Linked DNA regions of Homo sapiens: regions 2 and 3 are each linked to region 1. The links are contacts of gene promoters, found by promoter capture Hi-C in blood cells and fetal thymus (Javierre and others, 2016). All regions are on one chromosome and are shown on one strand. Each heading gives the region's core, a stretch centred on a gene start or on the middle of the fragment in contact. The rest is flanking DNA. Distances are from core to core; before and after follow the strand shown. Region 1 holds the start of CXCR4 (C-X-C motif chemokine receptor 4). Region 2 has its middle 300 kb from the start of CXCR4. Region 3 overlaps LCT (lactase).

What was found. Contacts are between HindIII fragments. The CHiCAGO score rates a contact against its expected background, and 5 or more counts as called.
Region 2: a fragment that was not itself captured here is called in contact with the fragment with the promoter of CXCR4 in region 1 in 1 of 17 cell types (naive B cells); the score reaches 7.2 in naive B cells.
Region 3: a contact is called between a fragment that was not itself captured here and the fragment with the promoter of CXCR4 in region 1, in 1 of 17 cell types (fetal thymus). The highest score is 7.1, in fetal thymus.

Annotation. Positions count from the first base shown.
Region 1 is chr2:136,116,708-136,119,864 of GRCh38, forward strand. It overlaps CXCR4 (C-X-C motif chemokine receptor 4), which reads right to left and starts at 1,442. Exons shown (of 2, transcript NM_003467.3): 1 at 1,339-1,442. The coding sequence starts at 1,353. RefSeq lists a silencer at 64-233 and an enhancer at 364-433. The HindIII fragment of the contact is 7,141 bases long and covers 1-1,876 here.
Region 2 is chr2:136,417,477-136,420,633 of GRCh38, forward strand. No RefSeq gene overlaps it. Among named protein-coding and RNA genes, the nearest start is that of CXCR4, 300 kb to the left of the region's middle. The HindIII fragment of the contact is 7,220 bases long and covers 1-3,157 here.
Region 3 is chr2:135,821,718-135,824,874 of GRCh38, forward strand. LCT (lactase) reads right to left here. Exons shown (of 17, transcript NM_002299.4): 4 at 2,184-2,286; 5 at 303-381. It overlaps LCT-AS1 (LCT antisense RNA 1), which reads left to right. Exons shown (of 2, transcript NR_045486.1): 2 at 1-1,370. Among named protein-coding and RNA genes, the nearest start is that of LCT-AS1, 3.1 kb to the left of the region's middle. The HindIII fragment of the contact is 2,076 bases long and covers 536-2,611 here.

The sequences.
Region 1 (3,157 bases), core at 192-2,691:
GGGTCTGCACCCGTGGTCCTCGCCCCAAGTTTCATTTCCTCACTCTCCCGGGTGGCTTCCCATTACCCCGCCACTGATCCAGTTAACCCGGCCGGAGGTGGGCAGCTGGAAGCCTCCAGGCGGTGGGCACGCGGGGGGCCGGGTCGTCCAGCCCCGGGCCGCCGCGGCTGCCCACTACACCCACGCCAACCGCCCGCAAGCAGCGCTGCAGGGGCTCCGCTGGGCGACACGCCAGGCTCTGTCCCACAGGGTGCTGGGGAGCGACTGGGCGGCTCCGCCGCGAGCGTCTTTGAATTGCGCGCCGCTGCAGGAAACCAAAAACTCCCTAGCAAGAGGGTTTCAAAAGGTTTCTGGAAACCACCGACGGTTAAACATCACAACTGGACTCGGAGAGAGCCAAACGGTTTCCCCACTTGCACCTGCCAGTCTTCGCGGCGGCGACCTGGCAGCCCAGGTGCGGTCTTAACCGCCCCCGCCCCTCACCCCGTACCCGCTCCTATCCCCGGAGCGCAAATCTCAGGGCTGGCAGCTGCGCGGTGTCAAAGGGGAGGTCAAACCACTCCGCTGACCTCTGCACGACCCCAAACTCTCGAACTGCAGGACCCACTCGCGGCCGTGGGGAAGAGGCGCGCTTCGGACGGCGGGAAGGTTTTCCCCCTCAAACCCAAAGCGCGCGGGCGGATCAACTCCTAGCTGCTGCCACCACTCGATCCCCTCAGAGGATCGGCGCGGTGGGTCCACCCGCCTCTCCCGCCCTCTGCCTACTGTGCTGGGAGACTGGCACAGCTCCGTCGGCCGCACAGAGTTTAACAAACACGCACCCAGTGTCAAGAACAGTCACCAGGCGCTTAACCCCGAAGTTAAAGCGGGCGCAATCTCCTCCTGGGAACTCAGCCCAGGCACGCCGCCCTCCGCCTCTAAATTCAGACAATGTAACTCGCTCCAAGACATCCCCGCTTCCCCAAGGAAGAGACCGGTGGTCTGAGTCCCGAGGCAGCGCGCACGCCTTCTCTGCACTTGTGCACAGAATGTTCTTACGTTTGCAAACAGCGTGCAAGCCGCCGCGCGCGGCGGGACTCAAGGGGGAGACACATGCAGCCACTGGAACGCTCTTTCCAGTCGTTTCTCCTCGACTCACAGAGAAAAAGATTCCAATCCTGCTCCCCCCCCACCCACCCGCACTATATAGGCATGGTCAAGAAAACTCCTTTCGGTGACCCTTTTTTGGAGTACGGGTACCTCCAATGTCCTGGCCGCTTCTGCCCGCTCGGAGAGGGGCTGCGCTCTAAGTTCAAACGTTTGTACATTTATGACAAAGCAGGTTGAAACTGGACTTACACTGATCCCCTCCATGGTAACCGCTGGTTCTCCAGATGCGGTGGCTACTGGAGCACTCAGGCCCTCGGCGTCACTTTGCTACCTGCTGCCGCAGCCAACAAACTGAAGTTTCTGGCCGCGGCCGGACTTTTATAAAAACACGCTCCGAGCGCGGCGCATGCGCCGCTGGGGCGGGGAGGGAGAAGGCGGGGTGGGGGAGAGGGGCAGACGCGAGGAAGGAGGGCGCAGGGGCGGGGCGGAGAGGTGCGCGGCTTGGGAAGCCCAGGGGACCCTGCTGTTTGCGGGTGGTCGGTAGTGAGTCCGGAGCCGGACAGGACCTCCCAGAGGCATTTCCTAAGTTTGAGGGAAGCGGGATGCGCCTGAAGACAGGTGGGAAGCGCGGGCTAGGAACGCGTCTCTCTGTGGCGCGTCCATCCTTGCTAAAGTGGATGGAATTCCAGACCTGGGAATGCTACAGTAGAGACACTGAGGCCCAGGGAAGGGGAGTGACTTGCTGGAGTAACCCAACCAGTAGGCGGCAATGCTGGAAGTAGGGCCAAGCTTCCAACGCCATTCCCCGCGCTTTCAGCAGACGCAGCCCATTCAGGAGGTAAAAGGAGTAAAGATCCTTCCTTCGGAGGATGTAGCTATACTTGCACATTCACAGCATCACTAGGGTCAGGTGCAGATAATTAGGAGATACTTTCAGAAGAAGGTAGGATTTGGCATAATTCTGGAGACTGATCAGATGTAGATATGTATTGCTCAGTAATTTCATAATAGCGGTAACCAATTCGCGAATAGTGCTTTATTATCCTAAAAGTATGCTTTATTATAAGAGTAATTTAGCGACCAGTACTTTTTGTAACAGATCACTAGGAACTTGCACAGAATCACTCATTCATTCTCACAACACCGTGTGGGTATTACCATCACAGAGATGCATTTAGTCCGATATTTATAGAAGGACGAACTGCGTGCCACGCACTGTTCTAGGCGTTGGGGATCCAGCGTGAACCAGACAAGGCCCGCATTCGGAGAAACCAGCAAATAAGCCCGGAGAGATGAAATGCCAGGGATGGGCAGGGATTCCAAGCCGGGCTTGAACCCAGGTCTTCGGTCCCCATACTCGGCGTCTTCCACGATTTTGAGCAGAGGACAAGCTTTGGCACGAATCAGAAATTAGGTTGAAGAACTGGGCGGGGCGGAGTGGGGGTGGGGGTCAGACGTTTAAAGCGATCTCAGACTGGCTGAGGTTTGCAGTGGGCGCGCAGACAGTGCTTTCCCCCTCGCGCCACTTCCCTCCGGCGCGGAGACTGGGTGGGGCGGGGGAGCGAGTGTGGGGCGGGGCCGAGAAACTGCGTCCGCAGGCGGGGTGGCCGCTGCGGAGATAGCTGGGACCGAGGCGCGTGCGTCGCGACACGGACCCCAGAGGCCCCCACCCCGAAATGGTCCCGAGGAGAGGGATTGCCCAGACTGCACTCTACACACGATCCCTCTTTTCTATATCAAAAGAGGAAACATTTCAGTCTGGAGTGTTCCAGAGGTAGTTCGGAGGCAGGGAACCTTTTCTCTACAGAGCATGACTTTCCCCCTTTGTCTGGGACCCCTCCCTAATGTTGGTGGTTAAAGGTTCTCATCTACTCTGCACTTTCACTGACACAGGAAAGATGATATCCGGGCCGGGAGATGGGACTCTCAGAAACGAACGAGTTAGGACACACACTAATGGCCAGATAAAATCAATTCTAATATTACATTTGTAGAATTAAAAAAAAAAAAAGAAACTCCAGGTTCTTGGAGGGTGGTGGCTGGAAGAGGTTTCGGAAGCTCCACGCCC
Region 2 (3,157 bases), core at 285-2,784, 300 kb after region 1:
CAATGGGAATGTGCTTATGGAATTAGTCTTTTATTATTTCTCTTAGAATAGAATCTGAAAAAGTTGGCTTTGGCTTTGGACTCCTCTAATAAGGGAGAGAAGGGCCAGGCTAGAGTTTGGCAGCTGAAACGCACACACACGTGCTCTCTGAGGGCTGAATTTCCGATGTACCTGGGGCACAGATGGGTCAGAAATGAATGGAATCAGCAGAGGCGATTGCTATCATTTTTTATTACTGTTCAGTGTTTGATTTCTGCTGTAGCCCTGGCAGATGACAACAGATTGTTGGGTATGAACAAGAGAAGATTATTTTCTATCTGATCATTCTTTGTGTGTATTTGGGGTGACCGAAGGTTTTTAATATTGAAAAGTCAAACAGCCTGGACCATTTCACCCACCATCAGCTTAGCCTATTATTTACAGTCCCATTCCTTTAACTTTCCAGTTCTTGGAAAAAAAAAATCAACTATCGACTGTTTGGACAGATAATGTGGGAAGATGAAAGTGGGAGATAAATACACATCTTCCATTACTCTTAGATCTCTTCTGGAGTCTTCGGTTGACACACAGTCTCCTATTTGTGCCTTATGTGGGTGTCCCATGAGAAAGGTCCATGGATATGGCAAGTATTCTTTAACCATGTCATGCCAAGGATTTGGGCATAGCAAGGGACTAAGTGCCTGGAAGAAATATTTCAGCATCTGGGGAGTTCTTTAAAATACACAGATAATTACTTCGAGATTTCTATAATTTAACTGCAAGTGTTAAAAATATATTTCCGAGGATTGATTGGGTGCTAAGCCAGTGTTTACATCTGGGAGGTAGGTCAGGGACAGGGGGCGGTGACAAGGAAGAAAGGGACATTAAGACTGTGACTGGTCTGGGATTTTACCCCACTTGCCAGCCGACAAGTTAACCTGCCACAGTTTAATGGATGCTGGTGGACTCCTGGGTCAGAGACAAATAACTTTACTATATTCCACATTAGCAGTAACCAGAATATCAACATTTGTATCAGGGCAATGTGGAGAAGGCCAGGTAATGCCTGTGTGTGCAGTGAGTTGTGTTACAGAGGTACCCTGAGTTCAGGGAATCCAAATCTTTTCTAACAGGGAATAAGCATGGCTGGGCTTAACTCCAGAGGCAGATGCCATCTTTATGACGTGGGCAATAAACAACCTTGCTCTTTGCTCTGGAGGGAGGCACAATTTCTGTCTTCCAAGGCTGCTCTCTATACAAACATCCTGGGAAAGATAGTCTCCAGCAAAGGCAGTCAGACACATGGAGAATTGTCTTCCAAGAGGGACTTAGAAATATTTTGGCCATAAAGATGAAATTAACTCCCTCCCCGCCAGCTCCCTTAGGTGAGTTTACCCCTTGGGTCACAGTAGCTTTTTCTCTTTAACTTCCAAGGAAATCCAAGGAGACACATTTCTATCTGAACTCAAGGCACAAGTCAAACCCTTCCTGGGGTCAAAGGCTGAGAAGAATTGTGAAAGCTCTGTCCACTTCATGACCTGTATATCCCTTTTACTTTGCTGCTCATTGCAAGGTAGTTGAACATTCCGACTATTAGAAATGCTAATTTTACATCATCTTTAACCTCGAAGGGACTGCAGGTTGTTGCCTGGGTCAGTCCTTGACTGAGACAGACTTTACATTTTGGGCAACTAAGGTTTGGAAGAATTAAGTGTCGTCTTCAAAGTCATTCAATAAAGACCTAGTGGAACGATGATTCCAAGTGAGGTCCACGGAAATGGAAAATTTCCTGTCATTTTCCTCAAAACCAGAGTTTTGACTAGGGAATCTTTTTAGACAGGATCGACCAAGAAAGGTTGAGGGGAAACTAAGATGAAAGATGGGTGATGGTCCTCAGAATACCTTTCCTTAGCAGTTGTCCAGAAAGCAGTGTGTGAAAGAGATTGCCAGTTGCCTACCCAGTATCCATGCTCTCTTGTTTTTTTAGGATAAGATCCCTGTATATTTGAGTATGGCAATTCTTCCAACTTTTATTTAGTTTTTAATTTTAAAATTTCTAATTTTAAAGATTTTAATTTGTTTTTAATTGAAAAATAAAAATTGCATATATTTATCATGTAGAATGGGTTTTGAAATACGTGTCCATCATGGAATGGCTAAATCAAGCTAATTAACATATGTATTGTCTCACATACTTATCTTTTTGTGGTGAGAACATTTAAAATCTCTTTGAATTTTTCAAGATGCCCTGCTTAAAAAAACAAACATATTTGTTAGCTTTCCTTGAGGTTGGGGTGGTCAATGAGGTGTGAGTGGAAGTCACTTCCAGCAAAATTCCTTCAAGGGGATTCACCTGGCTGGCAGGAGACCCATTCCTTTCCCCGTCTCCCTTCTCCCTGCCTGGAACATGGCTAGGATAACAAGTCCCAGTGACAGTCCTGGGATGGTGAGGAGACCTCATGGATGGAATCTGAGTGGAAGATGGTGGAGCAGAAAGTGAGAAGAAGCCTGGGTCATCGCTAACACCATAGGGCACCACGCCAGCCCTGGACAATGCACTTTTGGATTTCTTCTGTGTGAGCGAAAAATGATGCCTCCTTTTTTTTTTTGCCACTGTATTTTTGGGTAGCAGGTGAATGTTAATTTTTAACAGATAGTGGGTGCTTACTGATACCTAACTGTGATCCCTGAATGTTCATTGTATCCAGTCGAGTTTCTTAGTTGCAAGTAACAGAAAGTTTGGCAACCTTTAGCAAAAAAAGGACTAATGAACTTTTTAAGAAGGTTTACAGGGTCAAATAATGGAAGTGATGGCTGAGGAACTTGGAGCAGGTGGGCACCAGATTGTTCCAGAACATCTTATAGTGGGCTCTGCTCATTGTTCTCTCCAGGGCTCCACAGGAATCAATGGATCCTAATTTCTTGTCTGTCCTTGTGTCACTGTCAAGATTCAACATCTCAGGGAAGCGAGTATTCTATTGGCTGAGCCAAGGTCACAGGACTGCCCTGTATCAAGCTGGCGAGAGGAAGGACAGAGCAGAAGGAGCCTCGTGGAGCCCCTCCAGCTTCCACTCTGGGAGGGCAGGCACGTGGTTTTATTGTCCCACGAAGACTGCACACAGTGAGGGCCAAGGTGATTCCCTACAAGGAAATCAGAGCATGGTTGGGAAGTGACACT
Region 3 (3,157 bases), core at 324-2,823, 290 kb before region 1:
GGACTCAAGCAATCTTCCCACCTTTGCCTACCAGAGTGCTGGGATTACAGGTGTGAGCCATCATGCTAGTTGCGCACAGTTGGGCGAACTGACAGATGAGAAAGCAGAACCTCGTGAGTCCCACTCAGTAAGAGACTCCCTACTTTCTTTCTGAGTCTTTGTTTCTCATCAATTGAATGGCAATAAACAACTTGGTGGCCCAAGAGTTGATGACAACAGTCCTATAAGATTATACATGTAAAAGAAACAGAGTATTCTACAAATATCAGTTATTGATAGTTCAATAGGCAACCTGACATTACCTTTTCTTGGAACTTGATGAACAACTCAGAAACTCATTAATATCAAACCCAATGGTGAGCACTTGGTCTTTATTTATGGCTGTAAGAGAAGAAATTGAATTAACTCTATGTAAATGCCAACTAAGAACATGCAAGTCTGAAATCAACAGTTTTCCTCGCTCATACGACACACCCAAACTCCAAGCAGTGGTTCCAAGCCCCTTTGGAAAATACCATGGGCTAACGACTTTAAAAGCTTAGAAGTGAATTCTACTTACTTATTACTTAAAAGTGGTTCTCAAACTTCAAGGTGAATCAAAATCATCTGTAGAGCTTGTTAAAACACAGGTTGCTGGTCCCACCCCAAGAGTGTCTGATGCAGTAGGTCTCAAGTAGGGCTCAAGAATATGCATTTCTAATGAGCTCCCAGGTGATGCTAATGTTGATGCTGCTGGTCTGGGGACCACAACTTTGGGAACAATTGATTTAGAAGAACTCAAAGATCAGAAAGGGGTGGAATATTTTTAAAATTGTGGTAAAATACGCATAAACAGAAAAGGTACAATTTTAACCACTTAGAGAGAGGTGGGATCTAAGAACAGAAATTGTTATGCCATCAAAGGTGAGTTCAGATAAGCATTATTAAATGGTATCTATGGATAAACTTCAGGGGCCCTGTGGAGCCAACCCATTGCTGGGATGGGGTCCAGGTGTGCTATGGTTTGGATGTGGTTTGTCCCTACAAAAACTCATGTTGAAATTTAATTGCCAGTGTAACATTATTGAGAGGTTATGGACTTTTAAGAGGCATTTGGGTCATGAGGGATCCGCCTTCAGGGATTAGTGCAGTCTCCAGGGAGTGAGTGAGTTCCCATTCTAGTGGGACTGGATTAGTTACCATACAGTGGTTGTTATAAAGTGAGGCTGCTTCTGGTGTTTTATCTGTTTGCAGGCACTTCCTTCCCCTTCCACTTCTCTGCCAGGTTAGGATGCAGCATGAGGCCCTCACCAGAAGCTGACCAGATGTGGCTGCCTGATCTTGAACTTCCCAGTCCCCAGAACCATGAGCTAAATAAACCTTTTTTCTCTATAAATTACGCAGTCTAGAGTATTCTATTATAGCAACACAAGACAGACTAAGACACAGTGGTAGAAAGAACACTACTGACTTCTCCCATACTCTGGCCTATGGACAAGAGTGACAGACAGACAAGAGTGAATATCAGGGCCCTCAGGCACATTCCTCTCTGCCCCTTCCTCCCTTCTTGCAGAGTCTCCAGTGACTGCCAGCCTCAATGCTATCATAGACCCCACCTTTCCCCTGACTTGATTGGACCAGAAGCAGCCTCCTGATCCATGGCCAACAATCAGATTCACTTTCAAGAATTTGAACTAAGAGACACTAGGAAGATGGCCCTTGAGCTGTGAGTCCTACACTTGAAAGTTCTTAGCATCTTGGTCAGGTACCCACCAGGGCCATGTGCAAACTGAGATAATGGGGACATGGAACAAGGGTAAGTGGAGAGGGCTGGCTGGAGAGAGACGGGCAGAGGAAAGCCCTGCCAAGAGGAGCAGAGATGAGAGACCTTGGAGGGAGAGGTAATAAAAGGAGGCAAAGATGATTTTCCATGCTTACAACTCACAGCTGAGGCCTAACTATCTTTATGTCCATAAGAGGCATCCTTGTGTCGAACCTCTCCTCTTTCTTGGGTCAATGGGGGATGGTTGCAAGGGACCATCAGTAGGAAGGCATAGTACACTAACCCAGTCTGGGGTGGGCTTTTATACTAGTCTTCCTCCCATGCTCCTCCTCCCATTGGAACCCCGGACTTTCAAGACTGCTACCTAGCACACCAGTGCACCAGATGTCACTCAAAACCTCTTCAGCAATGGCCCACTCACCTTCAAAAAGGCTGAAGAGCAGACTGGCTGGGTTCTTCATGGTGGAGGGGCAGTCTGGGAGTTTTAGGTTGAAGATGAAAACTTTCACTTTTGGCTCAATGGTCTGAAAAAGAGAAGGACCAGCAAGTGAACTGAAGCCTCCTGGAAAGCATCTTGATAACAGGGACAGAGTTTCAAGATGAGAAGCTGTGGCACTTACTCTGGCTTTGGAAATGACCTCTAAGTATCTCAGTTAATTAAAGGAGTCAACTCTAGACTCTGAAGGAGAAAGATCTACAATTTTCAATAACATAGTCTACCCTCCCCACCAACCCCCACCTTCACCTCTTCTTTCATCACAGGCTTACAGGGCACCTCTTAGAGCCAGGCACGGTGTTAGGATCAGGAACAAGGCCACTGCTCACATCCAGAGCCTGTGCTACTTAAGAAGCTTAGTTAAGAGGCCACCATCTATGGATGTCTGGGATTTGCTTCAAAATAATCCAGTTTGGTTAGCTGGGTGTGGTGGTGCATGCCTGTAGTTCCAGCTACTTGGGAGGCTGAGCCAGGAGGATCGCTTGAGCCCAGGAGTTTAAGGCTGCAGTGAGCTATGATTGCACCACTGCACTCCAGCCTGGGTGACAGAGCAAGATCCTGTCTCTAAAAAAAATTTTTTTTAATTAAAAATCTAGTTTGGGAGATAGAAGTTATAGGTTAGGTGAAAGAAGATTAGCTATGAGCCAATAATAGCTCTTGCAGCTGGAGATGGCTTCGTAGGGGTTCATCATTCTTTTTACTTTTGGATGTTAGAAATTTTCCAAAACAAAAAGTTACAGCAGCCCAGCGGGTGTGGTGGCTCACGCCTATAATCCCAGCACTTTGGGAAGTTGAGGCGGGCGGATCACCTGAGGTCAGGAGTTTGAGACCAGCCTGATCAACATGGTGAAACCCTGTCTTTATCAAAAATACAAAAATTAGCTGGGCTTGGTGGTGCA